Linked DNA regions of Homo sapiens: all the other regions are linked to region 3. The links are contacts of gene promoters, found by promoter capture Hi-C in human tissues and cell types (Jung and others, 2019). All regions are on one chromosome and are shown on one strand. The core of a region is centred on a gene start or on the middle of the fragment in contact, and the rest is flanking DNA. Distances in the headings are between cores, read along the strand shown. Region 1 overlaps LOC105373953 (a long non-coding RNA gene). Region 2 has its middle 6.0 kb from the start of PRLH. Region 3 holds the start of COL6A3 (collagen type VI alpha 3 chain).

Region 1 (4,758 bases), core at 61-2,560, 180 kb after region 3:
GCAGATCCAAAGCTTGTGGTGGAAAAGAATGTGGAGTTGTGGTTGTTACAAGCCCAATAGGTGAGTTGCAGTGTCGACCACTGGAGTCCTGGAACAAAGCTGTGCCTTCTGTGGCTCACAGGTATTCCCCATTTGAAGAGAAGTTCCTGGCATGCTACTGGGCCTTAGTAGGGCCAGAGCATCTGGTCTTGGGGTATTAAGTGACTGTGGACAAACCATCCATTATGAAGTGGGAAGTGTCAGACTCACCAAGTCATCAGATTCAGTGAATGCTGTAGCAATCCATTGGATGATGGTAGGGGTACGTATGGGAGCAGGTCCAGAAGGCACCAAAATGCAAGAAGAAGTGGTCCAGATGCTTCTCAGTTCACTTTCATCCACCTCCCTGTGCCGGGACCTAATTTCATCAGGTCCTAATCACCTGATGCATAAAAAAAATAACTCAGACTTGCTTCTAAGATGGGTTGACTAGAAATGCTGGGGGAGCCAAGAATGGACTGTTTTCACACAGTGGCCATAATCAGGGTGCCCCTAAAGAATAACGGTTGAAGGGAATCATCCCAGTGGGTGAACTGCAGTAGACTTGGTCTGTCACTTGTCCTCTGACAACTGCCATTCTAGAGTTTACTGAATGCCTGTTTACTGACATGCAATTCTACAAACCATGGCTTTGGACCAGAAGACCTATTTTACGAATCTGCTGGTCTTACCATATATCACATCGCCAGGGAACATCTGGCATACCAGAATTATGCACCTATTAAAGGACCAAGTCTTCTACTTATTTAGGGGTGTTGTACCCCGGAATGCAACATATGGAGTAAGCTCACAGCTGATGCACGGGTTCCCCATTTGCTACAATATTTAGGCTTGTGCAACAAGGAGTTGAAGTAGAATTGCCTCTGGTCCTGTAGCTTCCATTAATCCACTGTGGAATTTGTGCTTCTCATTCTTATAACATCAGACCCTGCTGAAGCACAGGCCCCAATTTCCTGGGATAGAACTTCCTCCAGGGACATGGTGTTCACTGATTCAGAGCCTACGAGTACAGCTTGTTCATTTCGGTCTTGCTATGCCTGCAGATTCACAGTCAAGTAAGGAGGGGTAACTGAGTCTGTCATCAGGATCTAGAGGTGTTCCTGGGGTGGAGCCTACAGAATTCCCTGGAACATCTCTTAGTGATTCTAAAACAGTAACAGGCAATTGCAGCAATCATGGCCTGAAAAAAGAAAGACAGCCAAACACTGAGACCCATCAAGGGGGAAGGTTTAGGTCATCTAAGCTTTAGGTCTAGGCAAGCAACCTAGACCAGCTGAAATGTTAGCTGAAATAGAGGGGAGGATCTGGAAAGGATGGTGAAGGAATGAGGTGAAGAGTAACAACAGAGGCCTCTGGGTCCATTGCAGCAGTGGGGACTGTGCCTTCTTCCACTGACCCAGTGTGTTGAGTCTTTGGAAGACTTTGGTTCAACTACCACCTTGAATATTTTGTCTTGGTGGAACTGGATGTAATGTGAGGCAGGAGTGGATCTGAGGAGTTCAAAGGGTCCATGTATCATATACCTCCAGACCCCCTCCCTGCACCTTCCTGGCTTCCCTTAGATTGTAGTTCTGATGATGGGAAGCTCTGTGGGTGCTTCCAGTCACATTTGCTGACATCTCCGGCCTCAGGCATGAGCTTGCCTCCTTCACTCTCTGCCCCGGAGCCTCTCTGTTGCTATGGACCTGGCAGGTCCCCACTTGACAAACATATAGGGGCATCTAGAAGTGTGGGGTGGTAATGCCCCTGGGGGCACCCAATGTAGTATGGGGGCTCATAGTAAGTGTGTTCCCTTTGGGTCCTCAGGAGGCCAATTCTGGAGGCATTCTGCAGGCTCCTCCTAGGTCCAGGTGGGACTGAGCCCCTGTTGCCCACAACAACTTTATAGTGCACTTTTCATAATGGACTGTTGGCCCATTATGGGCTTTTCCTCCTTCCTTTACTCTCCCTGATCCCTTACTTCTATTCTCTGGGATTACATTTTAAATAAAATACCTGCACACAAGTCCTTGGCTAAAACTCTGCTTTCATGGCAGTGGGGTGGAGAGAAACCCAGGCTCAGACAACCTCTTTTCCAAGGTAGGTTAATAAGCCACCCATGTAATGTTGCCAGAAAGGACAGTAGCAATGTTGCAGCCAAGGTTGCACTGGAGATGGATTAATAGGACCAGGCATTGGGAATGCTTTCTCGAGTTTCTTGCTCACTTCTATTCAATGCATCCTCTGGTGAACATATTAGTCCCGCAACTAGTATCAATCAAGTGACTCCTGGCACACTAGACTCAATCTCTCTCTTGATCTCCAGCATGCACCCCCCGCCTACCTGACATATGCATTTAGACATGTTCATGGCCAAAACCTAATGTGTTGCCTTACACACTTGTCTCCATTGCTGTTGGTGTTGCCACACTTAGCCTCATGATGTGGAGAGATCCTTGATTTCTTCTTCTTCTTCCTGACAACTAATAATCAATTCCAGCTCTTAAAGGTCTCTACAACCCCTCCGCATCTTTAATTCCACTTGTGCTTGTCCCAGTCCAGACCTGCCCCATCTTTCTTTTTTTCTTTTTTTTTTGAGATGGAATCTCACTCTGTTGCCCAGGTTGGAGTGCAGTGGCACGATCTCAGCTCACTGAAACCTCCGCCTCCCGGGTTCAAGTGTTTCTCCTGCCTCAGCCTCCTGAGTAACTGGGATTACAGGTGCACACCATCATGCCTGGATACTTTTTGTATTTTTAGTAGAGACGGGGTTTCACCATGTTGATCAGGCTGGTCTCAAACTCCTGACCTCATGATCCTCCCTCCTTGGCCCATCTTTCTTAGTGCGTAACAGTTATTTCAGCAATGTGCCTGCCTGGGGCATCCTCTCTTTCCTTCTCTTGTCAAACTCACTCTCCATTATTACCCAAATTATTGTTCTAAAACATTTCAATCATTCATTCACTCAACAAATATGTGTTGGTTTTCCATCTCCTCCAACAGCAGCAAAAAGAGACAAAATCTAAACTCCTTGGCTTAGTTTTCTAGAAGGTTCCAAAGCTGACTCATGTCTGTTCCTTTGGCACTTGTTTTCAACCTTCCTTGCTGTGACTCCCTTGAGCCATGTGGTGACAACTAGGCCTTTTCTGTTTTTCAAGTGCCAGTATTTGGGTCAGTAACCCCAAGTGAGAGAGAAGGAAGATGTTTTCTGACCCAGTGCTATTCTTAGACATAGAATGAAAGGCTTCAGTGGCATTGAAACTTGGTAGACACTTGGAAAAAAAAACTTTGACTTGGATGAAGAGTTGGGACTGAGCCTTGCAACTTAAAATAAAAGCATCTGGAGAGGGAGAGGGGAGCGAGGTGTCCTCCAGCTCTCGGGGACAGTTTGTAATGGTGTTACCCTGTGGCCGGCAGAAAGCATCTGGGCTGTCACAAGACTCCAAGCCCACAACCCTCTGGCAAGGGAGGCATTCTGGAAGACTCACATCATGGTCCTTCCTCCATCTGTTGACTTCTTTAGGATTTGAAGCCTGGAGCACTCGGCGGTCTGTCTCATCATCTTGTTCCGACATTGCCATTGTGTTTGCTGTCCTGGAGTCAGGACTCTGGCCGCCTTCCTGGCTGCGCCCCTCACTTGGCTGGAGTGTCAGTCATTTGCTCATCCGTGCTGCTCTGGTGTCTGACTCCACATCTGCTCCCTGCTCTTGCTCCCAGTTTTCCCAGCGTATGTGTTGATAGCCCAGATAGACCCACCCTGTAACAGGGCCAGCAATGGCAGCCTTGGCAACCCATAGTATGATACATTAGTCCCTTATATGAGTCATAACGTTAATTCCAATTGGTGGGCAGAAAATGACAAGTACTTTGGATGCCTTCATAAGACACATTCGTACCAGATAGTGGAAGATAAAACCTACAAAGAGTCAGGAGTCTGTCACATTGATGACATTTTAAGGGGGTTACTAGTCTAGGGCATGCTGTAATCTCTTCCCAGTAAAAAATTGTTGTATCTCACACCCCCTACCACCATCAAAGAGGCAAAAGCTGTGTTTTTCTCTTTGGAATTTGAAAGCCATTTATACTGTGCTGAACACTGCCTTGATCTATGTACTGAGTGGTGGCACTACGGACAAGAGAAGTGTCTTCCCAGCTGAGACAGCCTGAGCAGGGGAAGAGCTGTGAAGGGCCAGGGGTATGGAGTGGGGGTTGGGGCACCCAGAGGAAGATGACAACATGAACCTGAGTGAAGGGCAGAGAAGGGTCAAGGCTGTAGAAGACCCAAGAGCAGGTCACATGGCCAAGGTCAGAGCTGAACGCTCCATGGGTCTTGGCCAGGACAGCTTGTGACACCTGACTGCTAAATGACCTGAGTGTTACCCATGAGACTGCAACATTGTGGGGGCAGACAGCAATGGACTGGGGACAAAAAGGTGGGGTTTTATTGTGATCATGTTAGCAATAAGTCCAGTAACTTCCCTCCCCCAAACACTAGGGCATCCGATAGTGGACAGCTGGTATTTGGTCACCTAAGAACCTTTGGGGTTTCATTTTGGGGCATCACTTCTTCCACATAGGACCTGATTCATCTCTGAGTGGACCCCCAGGTGACTCTACTGATTATCTCTTACTAGCTAAGCCATTGGAACTTCCCTGATTACCCCTCTAAGCCTGATTTTTCAGCTATCTTCCAATTCTGTGAGCCACCTCTATTTTTCCAATAAACTCCTTTTAGGGTTG
Region 2 (4,851 bases), core at 1,815-4,314, 150 kb before region 3:
CATATACATTTGGAAAAATATTAGTGCATACAACAAAATAGAAAAAATAGCACTGATCATGTTAAAGAAGCTGCTCGTGGCCAGGTGTGGTGGCTCATGCCTGTAATCCCAGCACATTGGAAGGCCGAGGCGGGTGGATCATGAGGTCAGGACTTCGAGAGCAGCCTAACCAACATGGTGAAACCCTGTCTCTACTAAAAATACAAAAATTAGCTGGGCATGGTGGCGCACGCCTGTAATCCCAGCTACTCAGGAGGCTGAGGCAGCAGAATCACTTGAACCCCCTGGAGGTGGAAGTTGCAGTGAGCTGGGATCCTGCCACTGAACTCCAGCCTGGGCGACAGAGCGATACTCTGTCTCAAAGAAAAAAAAAAAAAAAAAAGAAAGCCTCTCGCGTCTACATTTGATGCATTTTCTTCTAGTGAGCTTCCGACATATTTTCTGGGTAGATTGATCACATTTATACATGTTGAATTTCATTCTTTTCACTTAACACTGTAACAATCACATCCTCAAGTTGCTAAAAAATCTGCAAGTTTGTGCCATTTTAAGTAACTGTGCAATGTTCTACCATTTAAGGTGGATCTAAATCATTCATGTTCTGAATAATTATAGGTTATACTCATGACCACTTATATGCAGTTGAGTACAATCTTTTTAAGGAAAATTTCTGGAGGGGAAACTTGGCACGTGCTTCCCATGGATTGGCGCAGATGGTCAATGTGCCACTTCCATCCTTTAGGAAAAGCTTCTGGGCAATACTTTCCCCTTCAGGGAACAGGACACAGTGGCTTCTTCCTTGCTGCGTAGTTGTTTTTCCCAGTGACACAGGTTTGTGGCTGGTGGGCTCCCTGGGAGCTCTGGAGCCCAGGGGTAGCTGGAGGCGGGAAGTAGGGTAAGCAGCACGGGAAGGGTGATGGGGTGGGGTTCGCAGCTCCCAGCTTGGGCTGCTGATTAGAGTCACTTGGGAGCCTTAAAAACCTCCTAATGCCTGGGCTGTACCTGGAATGAATTCCATCAGAATTTGTGGGGGTAGCTCAGGCATCAGTGATGGCGAAAAGCTCCCCATCCATAGTTTTTACCCATAGTTTTTACAAATGTAGGTTGAGTATCCCAAATCCAAAAACCCCAAATCGGAAACTTTTTGAGTGCTGAGTTGATTCTCAAAGGAAATGTTCATTGAAGCATTTTGGATTTTAAATTTGGGATGTTCTACTCATGAGTATAGTGCAAATATTTCAAAATCCTCCCCCCAAAAACCCTTAAAATCCAAAACAGTTCTGGTCCCAAGTACTTTGGATAAGGGAACTTGACCTGTAGTGGTGATAGTGGTGGTTAAGTATCACCATCTTGGAGGTGTGTTTTCTGTCCAGTGCTAGGCCTGCCTGTAGCAGCAGAAACTGAGACCCCAGGACCTGGGGGCAGCTTTCTGGGCATCCACCACTGGAGTGTGTGTGTGTGTGTGTGTAAAGCAGCGCTGTCACAGTGTGGCACTGGCATCTTGCCACTTTGGGAGTCCACCAGTGGGAGGCAGCAGGCGGGCTGGGCAGTAGCACAGGCATCAATCCTGCTTACCCCACCCCCACGAAGAAGGCGATGGTGTCCATCAGAGACCTCAGAACCGCTGAGAGGCACTGTGGCTGGCCGGAGATGCTGTGATGGCGAGTGAGGTGTGGGCTGTTCTTGCAAGAATGTCACAGAACTGCAGGCCTGGCCTGGGGCTTTCAGGATGCACATGGCTTCAGTGTTTTTAGAGAAATGAATCCCACAGATGGGTTTTGACCACAGGCAGTCAGGGAGCTTCTCCCCATCCCCTATTTAACTGCGTCATGGGCCTCAGGAAAGGCAGAGCCAAGCACTCTTGGTCCAGCTTCTGTTGGTCAGTATTTCATCCAGAATGTGATGTGGCCACTTGAGTTGTGGCACATACAAACTAGAACCTGTGCAGGAAAGTCCCCTCCCTGGGGAAAGTATGACTGCCTGCCATGCTACCCTCCTGGAGGCCACGGGTATAATGACAGCAAAGATGCTGACTGCCACGCCTTCCAGTCCTAATTTTCTAAGATACTTATTTATTTATTATTTTATTTTATTTTTTTGAGACAGAGTCTCGCTCTGTCACCCAGGCTGGAGTGCAGTGGCGCGATCTCGGCTCACTGCAACCTCCACTTCCCAGGTTCAAGCGATTCTCCTGTCTCAGCCTCCCGAGTAGCTGGGACTACAGGCATCCACCACCACGCCTGGCTAATTTTTGTATTTTTAGTAGAGACGGGGTTTCATCATGTTGGCCAGGCTGGTCTCCAACTCCTGACCTCAAATGGTCCACCCACCTTGGCCTCCCAAGGTGCTGGGATAACAGGCGTGAGCCATCGTGCCCGGCCAGCTACTGATTTATTCTTCTGTGCCTTTCTTCATTGAATGAAGTGATCACAGTGGTTTTCTCATTCACTCTGTTAACACAGTGGACCGCAAGAATATATATTTTTTTCTAACATTAAAGAATTCCTGGCTTTCTTGGGATGAACCTTACCTTGGTAAGATACAATAGGTTTTCTAATAGATTCTGGGATTTGTTTCATGAATACTTTATTTAGAATAGATCTTTTAGGCTGTGCTTAGTGGTTCACATCTGTAGTACAAGCACACTTTTGGGAGGCTGAGGTGGGAAAATTGCTTGAAGCCAGGAGATTGAGACCAGCGTGAGCAACATAGCAACGCCCTATCTCTACAAAAAAGAAAATTTAATTTATAGAATAAATATGTTAACATATGTTGCCTTTACTTCTCCTTCCTCACATTGCATTCAGTAGGAAGGTCTTACCAGCCTTATGAAAGAGGAGCCACGCTTCCCCTTTTTCCTGTCCTCTGGAAAGGATCTGGTAAAGATAGGAATTCCAGAGCTGTCTAGGAGACATATGGGGTAGGACTTGGGCTGAGGTGAGGGGCAGAAAAGGAGTGAGCTCGGAGGTCATGGGTCGGGGGTTTCCAGACTGAGAGCTGGGGGGCTAAGATGGGAGCCTTGGGGATGGGGAAATGCTGAGGTCAGTCGTGGGCAGGTGTTTGAGGAGCCCTAGAGGGTGGCCAGGTGGCTGCTCGCTGGGCCTGGAACCCTTTATTTCTTTGCTTACGTTTGAGACCTCAAAGAAGCCCAGAGCTCTTTAACGAGGCCTCAGCCGTAAACCTGAACATGGGTGTGGACAGAGGACAGGTGGCTGTGAACAGCCAGGGAAAGGTGGGCACACCTGAGAGAAGACAAGAAGAGGACAGGTGGCGGAGGGTGGACAGAGAAAAACGACTCAGTGAAGGACCCGGAGAAAGTACCAGGGAGGAGGGTCTTGCGGGTAGAAGCGGGGAGGAGTGAAGAAGGCAGAGTTGCCCCGCAACAAAGAAGGGATCATCCGAGTCAGGGACTGTATCACGGCGCCCACCTGCCGGCTCGTTTGCTTGTGGTCTGTAGGGGACACTCCAAATCCAATCTTGAACACGGAGCTGGCAAACTTCTTCTGCCATGAGCCAGATAGTAAACGTGTCCAGCTTTGTGGGTCATAGGATCTTGGTGGCAGCTGGCCAAATCTGCTGTTGCAGCAGAAAAGCAGCCATGGGGAAAAGGCAGATGAATGGGTGTGGCTGGGCTCCCATGAAACCTCACTTAGGAAGATGGGCCGCAGCTGGCTTTGGCCCAGCCTGCCGTTTGCTGCCCTGGGTCTAGGTCTCCAGCTGGCAAACTGTTGCAACAGGTGTGCAGTCGACACTGTGACAGCCTCGTGCTGTTTCTGAAAACCATTGTGTAAAGTGGGAGAACAAGAGAACGCACTGTGTGGGAGTGTTGTGCTGTGTGAACGGGTTGAAGTGACCTGCTACCCTGCTTGTCCGGGCAAGACGACCTCTTCTCTGGCACAGGCTGTCTCTAGGTTGGCTAGCAACTCGCATGTACACGGCCCCGCCCATCTATCTCTCGGGCATCTGGAAAAATAAGTTGTGGCCGCTGGAGGGAACAGTCCTAGAGTTGGGGGTTGGAGAGGCCATTGAGAGAGGCCACCTGCTGAACCGGCCGAGGAGCAGTTCACAGTCAAGAGGGAAGAGAAGGGCACAAGGGGGGCTGAGAAGCCTCGAGGCCGTGGCCATTGCAGAGCCACCCCAGCCCCCGTGGCTGCTGCACTGGATCGCTGGGTTTTCCTGGGTCCCCAAGAGAAGGCTCTGTGTTCTTCTCTCACGCTCGCTGTTTCACTTGGGCTGGTTTCAGTGGATTTCTGCTCTTTGCAATTATAGGCACTCCAAGGCCAGGTGCAGTGGTTTATGCCTATAATCCCAGCACTTTGGGAGACCGAGGCAGGCAGACCACAAGAGGCCAGGAGTTCGAGACCAGCCTGGCCAACATGCCAAAACGCTGTCTGTACTAAAAATACAAAAATTAGCTGGGTCTGGTGGTGGGCACCTGTAATCCCAGCTACTTGGGAGGCTGAGACAGGAGAATCACTTAAGCCAGGGAAGCAAAGGTTGTAGTGAGCTGAGATCGTGCCACTGCACTCCAGCCTGGAAGACAGAGGAGGACTCTGTCTCTAAATAAATAAATAAATATATAAAAAAAGAGCCCCAAGTTGAGAGCCTCCCTCCCTCCTAGTCTTTCTTCCTGTACTCAACATGGGGAGAGGACCCTACTCTGGGGTGCATTTCAGTTTTGAGATCTTTGAGCTTTCACCCTCAACATGGTAAATGTGCAGCCTGTAGCAGGCACTTGGTAAGTAGCAACAGCACCATGATGGACAGTTGATTTCATGGATAGCTGGTTTTGGTTTTAGTTCTTGGACCATAATGGTGCTCTGTAGTGGGTTGGAGTCTCCCATCTGGAAT
Region 3 (4,971 bases), core at 2,208-4,707:
ACATATGGATTTTTGGGGGACATGACATCCAGACCCCAGCAGCCAGCAAGATAATCTCTCCCTGCCGTTTCCTAAGACAGAGTCTTCTGTGATCCCTGGGTGACTTCCCACGACCCAACTGTAACCTAATCCAGGAAGGGACACCATTCATTTTTGTCGTGTTCAAAGGCTGGAATCAGGGCTCAGCTTCCATTTGCACGCAAGGGGGGTGGATTACGCAAGGGCTTGACTCCTGGGGGTCATCTTGGAATTCCACCCACCTCACACACCCCAATGTGTCCAGAAGAGACAGATCCCAGCATCCACGAACAGTCCTCCAGGAAAGGGCGTGGGTGTGAACCACTAACATTTGACTCTCATCTGAGGGGAGTCTTGCAGAGGCACCCATGGGACCTTCCACACTGTCCTTGCCCGCAGGAGAAAGGGCAGCCAAAGTCTCAGAAAATCGCCATCCCTCAGGCCACCTTCCAATCCCATAGCCGTGTATCTGGATGGGGAGGCCCCATCCCCATCAGGGCCACAGCTACAAGGGAGCTTGGAAAATGGAGTTCTGAACTTGCTAACTTGTGTAGTTAAGGACAAGATAAGGGAAGAAAATGGGAAGAGGTGCCAAGAGCCAGTTCAAGCCTGCAGTGAAGGGGAAACAGAATTGAGATATTCCGTGACTTATGAGGTGAACTGAGAGATTCAGTGACTTATGAGGTCCCACCGATGGCCGGGCCTAGATCCAGGACTCAGGACGTTTAGGGCAGCTCAAACTTTTGAGGTTGTTTTCCTCCTGGGATCAGGTAGCAGAGAGGAACTGGAAATGTAAGTGGGAATCCACATAGTGGTGATTAAGGAAGAAAGCTGCCATAGAACCCAAATTCTCTCTTGTTAGCACAAGGGAGGTTTACCATGAGTTTCTGGAAGTTTCTAGAGCCATGGGCAGTGCTGAAGAGGATCTGGATCATCAATGAGTAGGTGCAGCTAAATATTAAAGATTATGGTTTCCTACTGAATGGGAGCTTTTATTTCTTTAAATCATGTTCTAAATGATTTCTTGCCCTTGCTGTTTAAATATAGCCATCCATTGGTATCCATGGGGGACTGATTCCAGGAACCTCCATGGATACCCAAATCCACAGAGGCCCCAATCCCTGAAGGAAGGTGGTGTAGTATTTGCACATAACCTATGCACATCCTTCTGTGTACTTCAAGCCATCTCTAGATTACTTATAATACCTAATACAGTGTAAATGCCATGTAAACAGTTGTTATACTGTGTCATTTAGAGAATGATGACAAGGAAAAACATCTGTACATGTTCAGTATATATGCAATCATCTACTTTAAAAAGCATTTTTGAACCACAGTTGGTTAAATCCATGGATGCAGAACCCATGGATACGAGGTCGACTGTAATAGAAACTTTCAATACCAAGGAATGCATCTGCCTAGCGATTTTGCGAAAAAGAGTGTATTTGTATTTGAAAGAAACCGTGGAGTGGAAACACCTAAAACGTGCTTGTTCAGTTAACCTCAGTTTGCTGAGCTGCTTGGAGCATGGGGTTGTAATCAAAGATTGTCTTCTTCGCAGCAGACAATGTTCTGGGAGAAATAGTCCTCCTTAGTGCTGAAGTTGCAGACTCTAACCAAGGGGGTGGCAGCAAGTATCCCCGGTCTCTGTAGGGGCTTGAGTCAACGCCTGCACTGTGCAGAGAGGATGAGGGCAGAGAATTGGATGCCGCTGGAGGGGCGTGTTGTCCTTCTACATGTCATGCAGGCAGCGCGGTTCTATACTCGGAGCCTCTGCTCAGCGTGTCTTCACCTAAGAACCCCATAATTCAGGTTCCATCCTTGTTCCCTACTCCAGTGCTCTGCAAGTGAGCCCTTTGGTTTAGAGATGGGTTGGGCTTCTTTATGGGAGAGGAAGGGAGCCCTGGAGCTGCAGAGGGGAGCAGGCATTCTCTCTGGGGTGCTGTCTCCTTTCTTCCCTAAATTGGAGGGAGATAATCCATGGAAAGGAGTTAATGATTTCTTTGCTCTTCAAACTTGGTTTGGAAGGATCTCTCAGTCAAAAAGAACCTTTCGGATGTCTCTTGATATTTCACATTAATGGACTTTTCATAAGGACCACATGATGGGAGAGCAGTGAGAAGTTTGGGGATGGCCAAAGCTGGGTTGTCATTTGAGCTCTGTTACTAACCCAGACTGGACAATGACGATGTCACTTACTCTCTCGGAACTTCTTTTCTTTTCTTCTTTTCTTTTCTTTTTTTCTTTTTTCTCTTCTCTTCTCTTCTCTTCTCTTCTCTTCTCTTCTTTTCTTTTCATTTCTTTTCTTTCTTTCCTTTTTCTCTTTTTTGGAGTCTCACTCTGTTGCCCAGGCTAGAGTGCAGTGGCGCCATCTCGGCTCACTGCAACCTCTGCCTCCTGGGTTCAAGCAATTGTCCTGCCTCAGCCTCCCAAATAGCTGGGACTACAAGCGCCTGCCACCATGCCTGGCTAATTTTTATATTTTTAGTAGAGATTTAGTAGGGGTTTCACCATGTTGGCCAGGCTGGTCTCCAACTCCTGACCTTGTGATCTGCCTGCCTTAGCCTCCCGAAGTGCTGAGATTACAGGCATAAGCCACCGTGCCCAGCCTGTTTCTTTCATCTGTAAAATGGGACCACAATTTCACCTAATAAAAGAAGACATCTTTCTATTTAAAAGGGCTTAGGGTGTTGATGTTTGTGATAAAGGAGAGAATGTATATTGAAGTGTTTTGAAATGTGCAAAGCTTTCTAGAAACAGAAGTTCTTACTCAAGTATTTTCCCGAAGCTTTGGCAAGATAACCATTTTTATTACCCCGTCTGTGCCTAGAATGGGCCTATAAGCGCCACAATCAGAATCATTAGATATAGAAATTAAGAGAAATGTAGCCTCCTTTTTTTTGCCGGTGAACAGAGCTTTGGTTAACAGAAAACCAAGGCGATTTTAATTGCTGGTTTTTCTATTTGAAGGGGGAAGTTATTAGTAGAAGTCTCAATTCAGAAACTTCAAGAAGAAATGGGAGGGTGTGGTGAGGGTAAGCGGGGGACTGCATTTCCTGTTTTCCTTTCAGATGGTGTTGGAAAACATTGCAGGAAAACCATGGATACCCACGAAGAAATTCCAAAATTTATTCTTTTTGACGCCAAGGGCCCAGCCCAAAAGGTGACGAGTAGGAGTGGTCAATTTTTTTTTTTAAGAGTTGGGGCTTGCAGGAGTCCAGCTAAACGCTTGTAGGGTGAAGACAGAATTCAGAGGGTGACATCAGCCTGAGCGGGGGCCAGAAGAAACAGAGTGGAGGAGTCTGGTTTCATTTACAGTTTTGGGTCAGTTCTGCAGTGAGGAGGGGGAGAGGAGGGGTCCGGGAGGGAGGAGGAGGAGGAGGAGGAGCTGGAGGAAGCCCTGACTGGTATCCCTGGCCCCAGTCCAGTTTGGAGCTCAGTCTTCCACCAAAGGCCGTTCAGTTCTCCTGGGCTCCAGCCTCCTGCAAGGACTGCAAGAGTTTTCCTCCGCAGCTCTGAGTCTCCACTTTTTTGGTGGAGAAAGGCTGCAAAAAGAAAAAGAGACGCAGTGAGTGGGAAAAGTATGCATCCTATTCAAACCTAATTGAATCGAGGAGCCCAGGGACACACGCCTTCAGGTTTGCTCAGGGGTAAGTGTGATTTCTCTTCTGTTTTTCCAGGTTTGGGGCTAGAAGGAAATGCTCTTAACCTGAAGTGATCCTTTCTAGGTAGCGTTAGTGGCTCTTACGTTCATGCTGATCGCCAGTTTTCTGTACATGTTTTAGGTCTCTGGAAGATTCCGCTGATTTTTCTTTCTCACTTTATGGCAATGGGATTTCCTTAAATTGGTTAAGGTCATGATTGCCTAAGAGTGTGAGCACTTTTCCACCGCGTGTCTGTGGCTGCTACACGCGCCCTGTGCATTCCGGGCGGCAGTGTGTTTCGGCCCATGATTTATTTAAGTTACTGCCGCCTTCTAAAACCCATTCGGGATCCGCTTTGTTTGCAGAAGCGTCTTTGCTGAGGACTAGCATAGCTCCCTGCCGGGCGGCTCCGCTGGGAGATGTTCTCTGAGCTCTCTGGGTGGTGACACTAGGTCAGGGTGCAACAACCTGCATGGGTTTTCTGCCCAGGGCCGCCCATGGGAAGGTCCTGGTGGAGCACATTTGCTGCTTTCACAAGATTGGAGTAACTCTGGTGCTCAGGATCAGGGCCAAGTAAAGGGTCGCTCAGTCATTGCCGTCAAGCTTTCGTCTTTCCAGGAACCTGAAGTCTCTATTGGAGACTTTGTCCCTTGGGGTTGCTTAAAGGAGTTGCAGGGGTCAGAGGAGAAGAAGGAATTGGGCATTTGGGCAGCATGCTGAGTGTCTAAGGCAGGGCCCCTGGGGCTGCAGGGCCAGCCCATGCTGCACAGAGGTGAGGCCAGTGCCGAGCTGGGAGGCCCCGAGGGCTGTTCTCTGGCCCGGAGGATGCAGGGTGGGGCTCGGGCCCTCTCTTGCTGAGGATGGACACGTTCGCTGACAGTGGCCAGCCTGTTTGGGGAACCTGTTTCAAGGGGCCTACTATGTTGGATAATGAACGGGTATTGAAGTATGGGTGGGGTCACTGGGAGGGACTAGGGAGTGGTTAAAGAAAAATCTGCTTCCACAGGAAGCCCCAGGAGCCAGTTTCGAGGCCGGTGCAGACCCCAGGAGCAAACCCCTCTGAGCACAGGGGAGTCTGCTGTGCTGGATGGGGAGGCAGGGCTGTGGCCCCGGCTGACTGGCTTCTCTCCCCACATACAGCTCACCCCGGCGAGGACCACAGGGTGCTAGAGCTGCAGGGTGCTCAGAGCTCACGGGGATGGTGGATGCTCAACCTGGGATCCCCCAGCTCCCCAGGGTCCCATTCTTAATGCTGTAAAAAACAACCGAAATGGCTTTAAAATCAAAGTTACATTGCTCCTAAGCAAAA

The links. Contacts are between HindIII fragments. The study calls those that stand out against the background at their distance.
Region 1: a fragment that was not itself captured here is called in contact with the fragment with the promoter of COL6A3 in region 3 in 1 of the 25 tissues and cell types used here (aorta).
Region 2: a fragment that was not itself captured here is called in contact with the fragment with the promoter of COL6A3 in region 3 in 1 of the 25 tissues and cell types used here (bladder).

The regions. Positions count from the first base shown.
Region 1 is chr2:237,230,771-237,235,528 of GRCh38, reverse strand. LOC105373953 (a long non-coding RNA gene) reads right to left here. Exons shown (of 6, transcript XR_924035.3): 4 at 250-421. Among named protein-coding and RNA genes, the nearest start is that of COPS8, 150 kb to the right of the region's middle. The HindIII fragment of the contact is 4,205 bases long and covers 1-3,412 here.
Region 2 is chr2:237,558,173-237,563,023 of GRCh38, reverse strand. No RefSeq gene overlaps it. Among named protein-coding and RNA genes, the nearest start is that of PRLH, 6.0 kb to the left of the region's middle. The HindIII fragment of the contact is 5,430 bases long and covers 350-4,851 here.
Region 3 is chr2:237,412,650-237,417,620 of GRCh38, reverse strand. It overlaps COL6A3 (collagen type VI alpha 3 chain), which reads left to right and starts at 3,457. Exons shown (of 44, transcript NM_004369.4): 1 at 3,457-3,668. The HindIII fragment of the contact is 4,662 bases long and covers 544-4,971 here.